Regions from separate parts of the Homo sapiens genome. Here all the other regions are linked to region 1. Evidence: promoter capture Hi-C in 16 types of primary human blood cells and fetal thymus (Javierre and others, 2016). All regions are on one chromosome and are shown on one strand. Each heading gives the region's core, a stretch centred on a gene start or on the middle of the fragment in contact. The rest is flanking DNA. Distances are from core to core; before and after follow the strand shown.

Region 1 (3,342 bases), core at 446-2,945:
GCTAAGTTCTGTGAATACTAGTTACAGTTTCAGAAATCCCAAATTCAAAAGGGTGAAAGATTACAAAGTGTCTAAAGTTATGCTCACAAACATATAGCAGTAAAAACACTCCAGCAGTATAAAACGCAGTCTTAAGCAATTTTTTTAAAAATACGTATGAACACAATGACATTGCAAGTGAACCATAAAACCCTCAGTTCTCCTTTGAAACTAGATTTTAAAATACCACTCGCCACTCTAAATATTCCATTGGTGTTAATAACATTCATACTATTGCTTTTAGGAAAAGCTTCATTTCACGTTTTGAACCTGATATTAACAGTCTTATCACCATGAAGTGCTGGTGACATGAAATGACAGACAAAGGCTTATCAAGTAGTCTTTCTCCAAGCTCCAAGGAAAGCACAAAACAAAAACAGCGTCTGGTATGTATCATCCCCTAGTACTTTTCCAAGTATAGAACAGCCAAAAGGTGGTAGCTATGACATCCCTTACCTTTCAATTCTATTTCAAGTCCAAGTAATGATAGATGGGAAACTACAGCTGTTTCCCATGGTGGACTTCTGAAGTCCACCTCTAATCTCAAATGGGAAATTTGGTTTTGACTTGACAAACGTCCTCTTGCAGTCCCGTGTCCCTGTTCTGCAACTTGTCATTAAGGTTTTCGATTTAATATTAATATTTAGAAATATGTTATGGGCAATTACATATAGTAGATACTTATATATTACAACTACATAGAGAGGACAACATTCAGCCCTGGGCCTCGAACCCTACGGACACACACACCCTTCAAGTTGAAATCCCAGCAAGGCACCCTGAGAACCCACTCAGGAGAGGGAGGGGCAGGAGCAGCGAGCAGAGGTTAAACCAGGCAGCAGCCAAAACAAACACCACTTCCAGAACAGGACAAACTTTGGGTCTGGGCGGCTGCAGAACCCCAGAAATGGCCGGGGGAGGGGAGAGAGTGTCAGACTGTCTCAGGGAAGGAAGATGGGGAGAGCGCACCCAGCACTGGGCGAGGAGCTGAGCTGCGAAGGAGGCTGGTGTCCCCCGGGGACAAGGGCGTCGCCGCCATCCCCGGCTGCAGAGTCCTCTCTCTCAGAACTGGCCGAGGCCTCCGGGTCCCTGGGGGCAGCCCTGTCGCCCCACTCGCAACCTCCGCCCCCGCACACACTGCCCCACAGACCCGCAGGGACAGGAGGCGGAGGGACCCACCTGGTGCAGCGTCTCGGCGGGCAGCTGCGATGCCCGAAACAGGTCAGCCACGGGGCCGGCGGCCGCAGTGGCCGTGCCGGGGGCGACTCTGGCGGCCTCGGGGGGCCCAGACCCGGGGCCCCCGCCCGCGGCGCCGGCACAGCGCGCGAAGAGCTCGGAGTAGCACTGCTGCTCGCCCTCGCTCAGCAGCAGCGGCGGCGGCCCGGAGCCACAGCCCCCGCCCGCCGCTGCCGCTGCCGCTGCCGCCGCCGCCGCCGCCGCTGCCGCCTCCATGGGGCCAGCAAGGGGGCGCGGCGGAGCCCTGTCCCTAGCTGGGGTGCTGCTGCGTCCGCCACAGCCACCGCCTCCTCGGCCTCAGCTGCCGCCGCCGCCGCCGCCGCCACCACCGCCGCCGCCACCACCACCCCCACGCCCCGCAGCTGCCGCGCGGCCGCTTCCTCCCGGCGCGCGCCGGCCCCACCCCCGGGCTTGAATGTTGTGCCTCAGCTGCGCGGCACATGGAGACAGGCGCGGCGCGGCCCAATCACAGCCTGAGATGTCACCCCGGCCCCGCCCCCGCCTCCCGCTTGCCCCGCCCAGCGCCAGGTAACTAACCCAGCGCGCCGCACGCCCTCCGCCCGTCACAGGCTCCGGTGCCCAGGAAGGCGGGCCCCGTGCCTTTCCAAGCCTACCCTGCAAGGGAGCGGAGCCTTTGGCCATCCGCCCTGGTTGGGAAGGGGGCATCTAGACCCAACTGGAGAGAAGCTCTTTTCGGGGAGCGGGGAAGGTTGTGTTGTTTTCTTGCTAGAAGGCTGGGGCAGGTGTGGTGCCCACACCACGCCATGCCCTTTCCAGAAAGGGACAAGGCATGGGAAATTAGGTTTCCTTTCTTCCATAGCAGTACTGCTTATGTCCTAAAGAGCCGGAAGACGCAGACGTCTGTACAAACAGGGTCCCACTGACCCCAGAGTGTTCAGGGTGGTATTGGAGTTAGGCCCCCTCGTCAGACATGGCTCAAACCAGGAGTTGAGACTTTATAAGGAATAACATCGGTTACTCGTAAATACTAGAGTAGTAAGAGTACAAAAAGACCCATTTTGCAGATCATTTCGTCCAAACCCTGCTTTTACAGATGAGGAAACTGCCATGTTCACCTTCATTCCTCCAAAACCAGTTGAATATCTCGTATGTAGCAGATTTATATGCTAGGGCCTGAAAATACAAACCTCAGTAACAGAGGATCCTCACTCTCCAAAGGAAGCACTTATTTTAGTAGTAAAACAGGCATTTTTTTTAGTACAAAACTTGTTCAAGCTCACACCAAAAATCAATGCGAAACCCCACATTTTTCCACCCCGGTCCATGTCCTCCTCTCTCTCTCCATTCCTCCCTATCCTAAAGCATACACACTATATTTTTCAAATGTGCTTGCTTCCCCCTGGCTAGTACTCTAACCACTTTTTTTTTTTTTTTTTTTTTTTGAGAAGGAGTTTCGCTCTTGTTGCCCAGGCTGTAGTTCAATGGCACAGTCTTGGCTCACTGCAACCTCCACCTCCCGGGTTCGAGCGATTATCCTGCCTCAGCCTCCCGAGTAGCTGGAATTACAGGCGCCTGCCACCACTCCTGGCTAATTTTTGTATTTTTAGTAGAGACGGGGTTTCACCATGTTTGTCAGGCTGGTCTCGAACTCCTGACCTCAGGTGATCCACCCCACCCCCACCCCCCCACCTCGGCCTCCCAAAGTGCTGGGATTACAGGCTTGAGCCACCACGCCTGGCCCTCTAGCCGCTTTTAAAAGAAAGTCCAGGCCGGGCGCGGTGGGTCATGCCTGTAATCCCAGCACTTTGGGAGGCCAAGGCAGGCAGATCACTTGAGTCCTGGAGTTCGAGACCAGCCTGGCCAACGTGGTGAAATCCCATCTCTACTAAAAATACAAAAACTAGCTGGGCCATGGTGGTGAGTGCCTGCAGTCCCAGCTACTTGGGAGGCTGAGGCAGGAGAATCACTTGAACCCAAGAGACAGAGGTTGCAGTGAGCCAAGATCACACCACTGCACTCCAGCCTGGGCAACAGAGCAAGACTCTGTCTCAAAGAGAGAGAGAGAAAGAGAGACCAGAAAAGAAGCCACTGGAAAAAAAGTCTGTC
Region 2 (3,394 bases), core at 895-3,394, 1.1 Mb after region 1:
AAATAATGGGCCCTGCACTGTTAATTGCTAGGTTGTTTGCAGTTGTGCTGTTGCTATTAGAATTTAATAAGCCATTCCTTCTGCTAAATTAATAAGCAGCCAAGATTATGTAATAGCTGCTTTCAGCTGCTAATTATTTTTCCCACAATTCCTTCCCCTCCCTACCCCTACCCCCACCTTTTTTTGGCTAGGAGCAGGAAAGGAGACTGCCAGTATGTCATCAGCAAGTCTCCCGTCCTCATTTTCAGAGCAACATTAGGAGCATAATCAGAGTTTAAACTTGGAAGTGGCTATCTCAGGAACCTTCAGGATATAAGTGTTTTGTACAGAAAAAGAGAAAAGCAGCATTTGGATTCAGAGGGCGAGTTTTCATTGTGTAGCATTAGAGCTATCTTTTAACTGGTTAATGGCATCTGTTTCTTGTAGTAAGAGAGAAATGGGACATTCGAAAGCACCTTTGGGGCATGACTAGGTAGGGAGAAATCTGGTGGGGGCGAGGGGGACCTAAAGAACTACAGAAAGCCAGCTCTGTGCCGTGTGTCGTCCCCTTTCTTTAATATTCCAGTATACATTAATCATACATGTTAGTAGGAAACTTTCCAAGCAGCACAGTAGTGCTTGAAAAGGGGAAGTATTACACATTTCTTTTTGTTTTGTCATACAAAAGCATTTTTTAAAAGCCCCCAAAACTACTGTCTTAGTTTCATAGATACTATAATGTACACAAAAAGAATATAATCCCTAATAAAGGATTCCTTTACATTGATTACATTTAGCTTCGTGAAAATTTTAGCATTTCTTTTTTTACTTTAGGCCATTAAAAAAATTCTGGCGACTATACTTAGGAACCTCTGCAAAAGGGGCATGGCCCAACAAAAGCAATTTTCTCGCTTCCTTTGTAAGAACCTAGGTGACTCGGGTAATGAATAGCATTTCGATATGGGAAACCCGTGGCTCTTCAAGGAAGGTCACCTAATCCCGTGGGACTCCCCTTTCCTTATCTGTAAATGACTAGATGATTCATCCATTCTATCATTCAGAAAATTATGAACATCCATTATGCCCAGGCATTACGCTCAGCATTACAGCTCTTAACAAATTTATCATTTTATAGTCTTTATCAGTCAACTCACATTTATTAGTTGTTATATACCAGGCTGTGAACTAGATTGAGATGCAAAATGAATACAATTTAAGGTGTGCTAAATAAAGGCTAACGGGCATGTGGGTGAAAGAGGGAATCGCTCTTACAGGGTTTTAGGGTGAGGCTTCATAGATGTGACATTTGGGAGCAAGGACATGCCAGGCACAGCAAGTCGTCGGCAGTGCTAAACTGGAACCCAGGCGGCTGGTGGGGCGACCCAGTGTGAAGGAAGCGGGATCTCGAAGGTGAGGTGCTGTCCGGGCTTTTCAGCCGAACGGACGGTAACTCATCCAGTCCGCAGCACCGAGGATGGGCGAGGCGAGCCCAGGGAACAGACTCCCGCGAAGCTCGGGGCGGAAGGTGTCTGGGCTAGGGCTGGAGCAGTGCAATGGGAAGGAGAGGGCGGATTCCGGACAATTTTGAGGCAGAATGATAGCAAAAGGCCCGTGAATGCGTGACGAGCTCCACAGAAGAGCTGACTTGTTTTTCCAGAGTTGCAGCACTCCCTCGTCTCCTCCCACCCTCCTCGTCAGCCGTCACACTTCACACTTCCTCTCTGGGGACACAGAGAATCATTAGAGCTCGAACGTGGCTCTTCGCTGTCCGGAACTTCCCTGCCCCGCACCACCCGCTAGGCTAAGGACGCTGCAGAATCCCGTCCTCCTATCATTAAACAAGCAGGACAGCCGCCCGCGCGCGTCCCGGAGGCACCTGCAAGAGCGCGCGGGCGCGCGGGCGCTCGGGCCCGGCAAACGCCGCTTCCGGGTCACGTGGCCCGGCTTCCGGTTCGCACCTCCCCTCAGCGAAGAAACCTCCAATCGGCTGCCTTGGACTCAGCGGTTACCCGCGCTGCCTCCGGTGCCGCTGGCGACCGCTGAGCCGCTTCCCGCGCGTCGCCTAGCCCGCCCCTCAGCTCGCCGCAGCCCCGGCTCCTCCCTCGTCCGGCCCCCGGGGCGGGGTCTGTCAGCTTGCCCTCCCCTCTCCGCCTAAGCCTGCCCTATGCCAGCCGGGTGTCCTCCCCACAGCACCACGGCTTCTCTTCCTCAGCACGGCGACAGGGGCTTCCCCTTCGCCGCCGCCGCCGCCGCCGGCCAAGCTCCGCCGCGCCCGCGGCCCGCGGCCGCCGTAAGTCCCTGGGGGCGAAAGGGGGCGCCGGGGATGGGGGAGAGGGGGAGGGAGGACTGGGCGCGCCCCCCGCCACCCCGCGCGCGCCCCGACGACCCCACCCCGAGCCTGCCCGGCCCGCCACTGGGTCGCCGCGCCCGCAACTCACTTCTCTCCGTGTCCGCGCCCTCCGCACCACTCCGCGCCGCGCCCGGGGATGTGGGGGCCAGTCCCGGGCTCCGCGACAGCCTCGCGGCACCTGTGGTTCGGGAATCGCCTCAAGTTTTGCGGGGCGCTTTCGGGAGGGGCCGGGGGCGGTGGCGGCCGAGGACTCTTGGCGCCCCCTGCGCGGCGGCGGATGCCATTGTCTGCTCCGCTCCTTGCCTGTCACCTCTCCCGGGCTTGGTCAGTGATGGAGTGTGGCCACGGGAGTGGGGGGGAGGCACCGGCGACGGCCGGACCCGAGGAACGCTGGCCCCGAGCCCGCGCCGCGGCTGAGCCCATTGTTTTTAATGCCAGTCTCGAGGAATTGTGGTGCCCTGTGATTTGCGGCAAAATCAAAGCGTTGGTTTTTAACACGAGGGAAGGAATACTCGTGCTTTGCAACCGGGTTTCGTCCCATGTTAGGACATAATTTATTTTAAGGAGAATACATTGTTTTTTCGTCCTGCAAAGTGGTAGGGCGGATACAGGACCCTGCTCCAGACAGCCTTGAGCCCATACTCTTCGCAGGCAAACCCTCACCCTTTCTGGTCACCAAGATCTAGGAATACGAGGTCCATTCTTTTCCAAGTTCTGGTAACGGGTTTGCAGTAAATGCCCAGTTGATGCTTCACTTCCTGCCCCCTTCGAATGCCGCTATCTTCAGGACTTGCACGGGAGGCACTTTGGTATCACCTAATAATGTCCTTATATTTTGTTCCCCTGACGCATTTTAAGTGAGGTAATAAGACCATTTTAACTTTACTAAAGTTGAATTGCCACGTCATACATTTCTAGATATCTTGTTGATACCTTTTTGGGTGGTTACAAAAAGCGACGATAATTTCTTACCGAAATTTAGGGCCCATTTTTATTCTACATTGGTTCTGTAAATTTCCCCTCCCCGTGTTCAAATTCAAGATGGTGTGGTGAATCTTGAGAATC
Region 3 (3,398 bases), core at 369-2,868, 1.3 Mb after region 1:
GATTTTATGATCACATATAAAGTGTAAAAGTTCCTTTCTCTTCCCACCTTCCATCCATTTCTGCTTTGAAGACAGTGGGAACTTTCACAATATTGAGCTACAAGGAGCACAGAGTAAAAGACAATTTTCAACAAAACATTTTTTATTAAGCTCACCCTGGCTCTGAGAACTCTATCTCATTTATATAAAATGTTGCCAATGCTAATCATTTTTTGCATGAAAAATTAAACACACCGGAAATGGGATCAAGTGCAGCCTGTGTAAATTACTGCATTGATTTTTATAGCATTATTTTCTCCCAGATGATTTGAGGCCGCGTACCAAAATATAGGCAACACTGTATAAAGTAAGTATTATAGTTTAAGGAACCAGAGGGGAAATTCATGGAGGGAGAATAAATAATGTAGCCAATGGTAAGATTAACACTCAAGTATGCACACTTTCAGATCCAGAACAGTTTTTGAAGGTGGGCAAGAGATCTCACTCTAAGCTTCCATAGAAAACAGGAGATAACAAGTATTTTAAAGTTTTACGGTGTTCATAAAAACCAATCAATCAGGATTTTGTTTGCTTTTGAGAAGCACTGTTTGTTTTTTTAAAAATAATTTTTAGCCCCAAGGCAAATCCCAGTTCCTCATCATGATGACGCTGTGAGCTACGTGGGAAATAAGTGTCATAAGTTGTTACACCCACATTCCCTCAATGGAAACTGTTGGCATAATCACAAAGCACAGGGCACTGAATCAATTTCATGAACCATCCAAAATTTCCTGTTCGACTGAGTACACAGCCCCACAATGGTCTGGTTTAATTCAGGGTAGCATTTAGATAATCTTTCCCCATAATGGCACATAAGTTTCAACTCACATGTCAACTCCCATTTATTCATATTAGTGGACTGAATAGCTCAGTTGGGGTGGCTGAGTCCATGCACAGAAGGAAAAAGTTCTGAAATAGATAAAAAATGTTTGTCATGGGTGTGGGATGAGCAAATGGCTGCAAACAACCTGTCATCTCTGATTTGTAGTAATAGGGATCTCTTGTGCACATCTTTTAGGCAGTCCACAAAAACATTTCTCATAAGACTTTTGATGAATTTCAGACAGTAGAGGGTTCAGGGTCATCACTGGCCGAAACGTAGGATCAGAAATTCTGAGATATTGATTAATTCATATGTCTTTAATATTAATGAGAGCATATAACCTAAAAGTTATGTGGTCTGATCCCGCCCCCGCCCCCACACCCTTTATAGAGGTTGGCAAAAGAAGTACCTGTTGTCAGGGCTAAATGTGACTAGGTGACCTCCAACTGGTGGGCAAATTGATGATTAAGGATGGAAAATACTATTTCATAGACCATGGCTGCAATACTGTTAGCCTAGTAAAAAGAGAAAATTGACTTGCCAAATCATGAGAAAACTCTTACACCTGAGCAACAGTGGAACCAGCTAAACCTGTAAAAGAAATGTCTTGCTTTAACTACATGAGACCCATTATAAAGCATTGGTCTCCATGCACAAGATGAAACACACAGACACACATACTTTTTTTTTCCCATTTAAGAAACTGTCCTTTAAATTGCTACTTTAGGAGCATAAAGTTGGCAGAATTACACTCACTCAGTTGATCTGAATTAATTTTTATTTCCAAACGGTAGTGATTAACTTTCTCTGAAGTAGAAAAATGTTAACTTGTGAAGAATAAGACAAAGTTCATAATGATTATGGCTACTGATTAACCTACAAAATTTGATGAGCTTTTCAAATATCCTTGCTTAATATGATTTCTCATCTTAAAAAGGGGATATATGTGATGGAGACAAAAATATTCCACATTATAGAGTTTCTTGCTTACCAAGGATACTGGAAATTGTGTGTGTGTGTGTGTGTGTGTGTGTGTGTGTGTGTGTGCGCGCATAAAATTAAGCATACCAAAAGATTGTAACATCATCTGTTCTATATTCTAAAATTATTATTAAAATAAGCTCATTTATCTTTTTATTAAGATGGCCAATGAAAAATAATTTCCTGTTTTTTGTAGTCATGGGCACGTAGTGGGCTGCCAGTCCAACAGCCTGTGATTAGTAAATAAAGGGCACATTGGAAACTCACTGTCAGGGAATGTCCTTCCCATCTCCCATTGTCCTTCTCTGTGTCATTTACAATGAACCCATTCCCACATTGAAATCTTCATTAGCCTCTCAGGACCATTGTTGGAGAATCCAGACTCTCTGACCTCTAAGATCAGAACCCAACTTGGCTTTTCAGATGCATCTACACTGATGCTCTCTCCCCCATCTTCCTCTGAACCACTCTACCAGCAAGTCCCTGCTGTTGGCCATATCCTGTATCTGTCCTTTGTGTTTGTTTTCAGATTTCCTTAACTTGTATCCTGTGGGCTTTCATGTTTTATCTTTAAACATCTTGCCATTGTTCCAGGTCTATCTTGATTATCATTGAGAAACCTTTCTTCTATTTTTCTTTTGTTAACAGTTTTATAATTGACTTGTCAAATCCAGTAACTTTTTATCCTCTTTTTCTCCAGTGTTCCTATAGCATTTTGTTCACAATTGTATGTGCATCTATTGCCATCGTGATTTACTTTTGTGTCCTACAAAATTGTAAGTTCCTGAAGGGCAGAGACTATATTTGGTTCATTTTTGCATTTCTCGTAGCCCATGAATATGATAGTTTAAGAAAACTGAGTTGACTAATTTGAATCATAAACTGAAGTTCTAATAAGCTTGTGACTGGAAATTAAGTACCATGAAATGCATTGCAATGTATATATTTTTACATTCTTAGCCTTAGAGAAACCACACACACACACACACACACACACACACACACACACACACACACACACACACACACACTTGTCTCCCTTTTTTCTTCTGTTCTTCCTTGTGTGGGTTATTTCCATTAACTCAACTACAAGAAGAAAAGAGTTACCTAAATGACATTTTTAAAGTTTGTGGGGGTGTTTTGCAGCATCCCTGGCCTCTACCCACTAGATGCCAGTAGAATCCTCTCATCTGCCATTCATGATGACTAAAAATGTCACCAGACGTTGCCAAGTGTCTCTGGAGCACAAAATCACCCCCAATTGAAAACCACTGAGTTAAAATAGAACTTACACACAATAGACAAAAATACTTTGTCTCTCCATGTATCTTAACACTGACAATTTAAAGAGAATAAAATTATTTTTGTTGCCTAATTATACTGAAAACATTGTATAAATTATTAATAATACAAACATCTTGATATTGTTTATTATATATAGTATATCCATTTCATTACAATTTAAACAAGGAAGGATGTCATTTATTAAAATTCTACAACATTTAGGAAATCATTGAGTAGAGCCATTTAATTAAGATATTAAAACTTCCAAAGG

The links. Contacts are between HindIII fragments. The CHiCAGO score rates a contact against its expected background, and 5 or more counts as called.
Region 2: the fragment with the promoter of AP1S2 here is called in contact with the fragment with the promoter of REPS2 in region 1 in 1 of 17 cell types (naive CD8 T cells); the score reaches 5.1 in naive CD8 T cells.
Region 3: a contact is called between a fragment that was not itself captured here and the fragment with the promoter of REPS2 in region 1, in 1 of 17 cell types (activated CD4 T cells). The highest score is 5.2, in activated CD4 T cells.

The regions. Positions count from the first base shown.
Region 1 is chrX:16,945,011-16,948,352 of GRCh38, reverse strand. REPS2 (RALBP1 associated Eps domain containing 2) reads right to left here and starts at 1,695. Exons shown (of 18, transcript NM_004726.3): 1 at 1,219-1,695. The coding sequence starts at 1,491. The HindIII fragment of the contact is 5,688 bases long and covers 292-3,342 here.
Region 2 is chrX:15,853,563-15,856,956 of GRCh38, reverse strand. AP1S2 (adaptor related protein complex 1 subunit sigma 2) reads left to right here and starts at 2,144. Exons shown (of 6, transcript NM_001272071.2): 1 at 2,144-2,269. RefSeq lists silencers at 1,728-1,837, 1,928-2,207, 2,428-2,717 and an enhancer at 1,506-2,110. The HindIII fragment of the contact is 8,276 bases long and covers 1-3,394 here.
Region 3 is chrX:15,670,356-15,673,753 of GRCh38, reverse strand. It overlaps a transcript of CLTRN not described here. Among named protein-coding and RNA genes, the nearest start is that of CA5BP1-CA5B, 3.4 kb to the left of the region's middle. The HindIII fragment of the contact is 2,251 bases long and covers 493-2,743 here.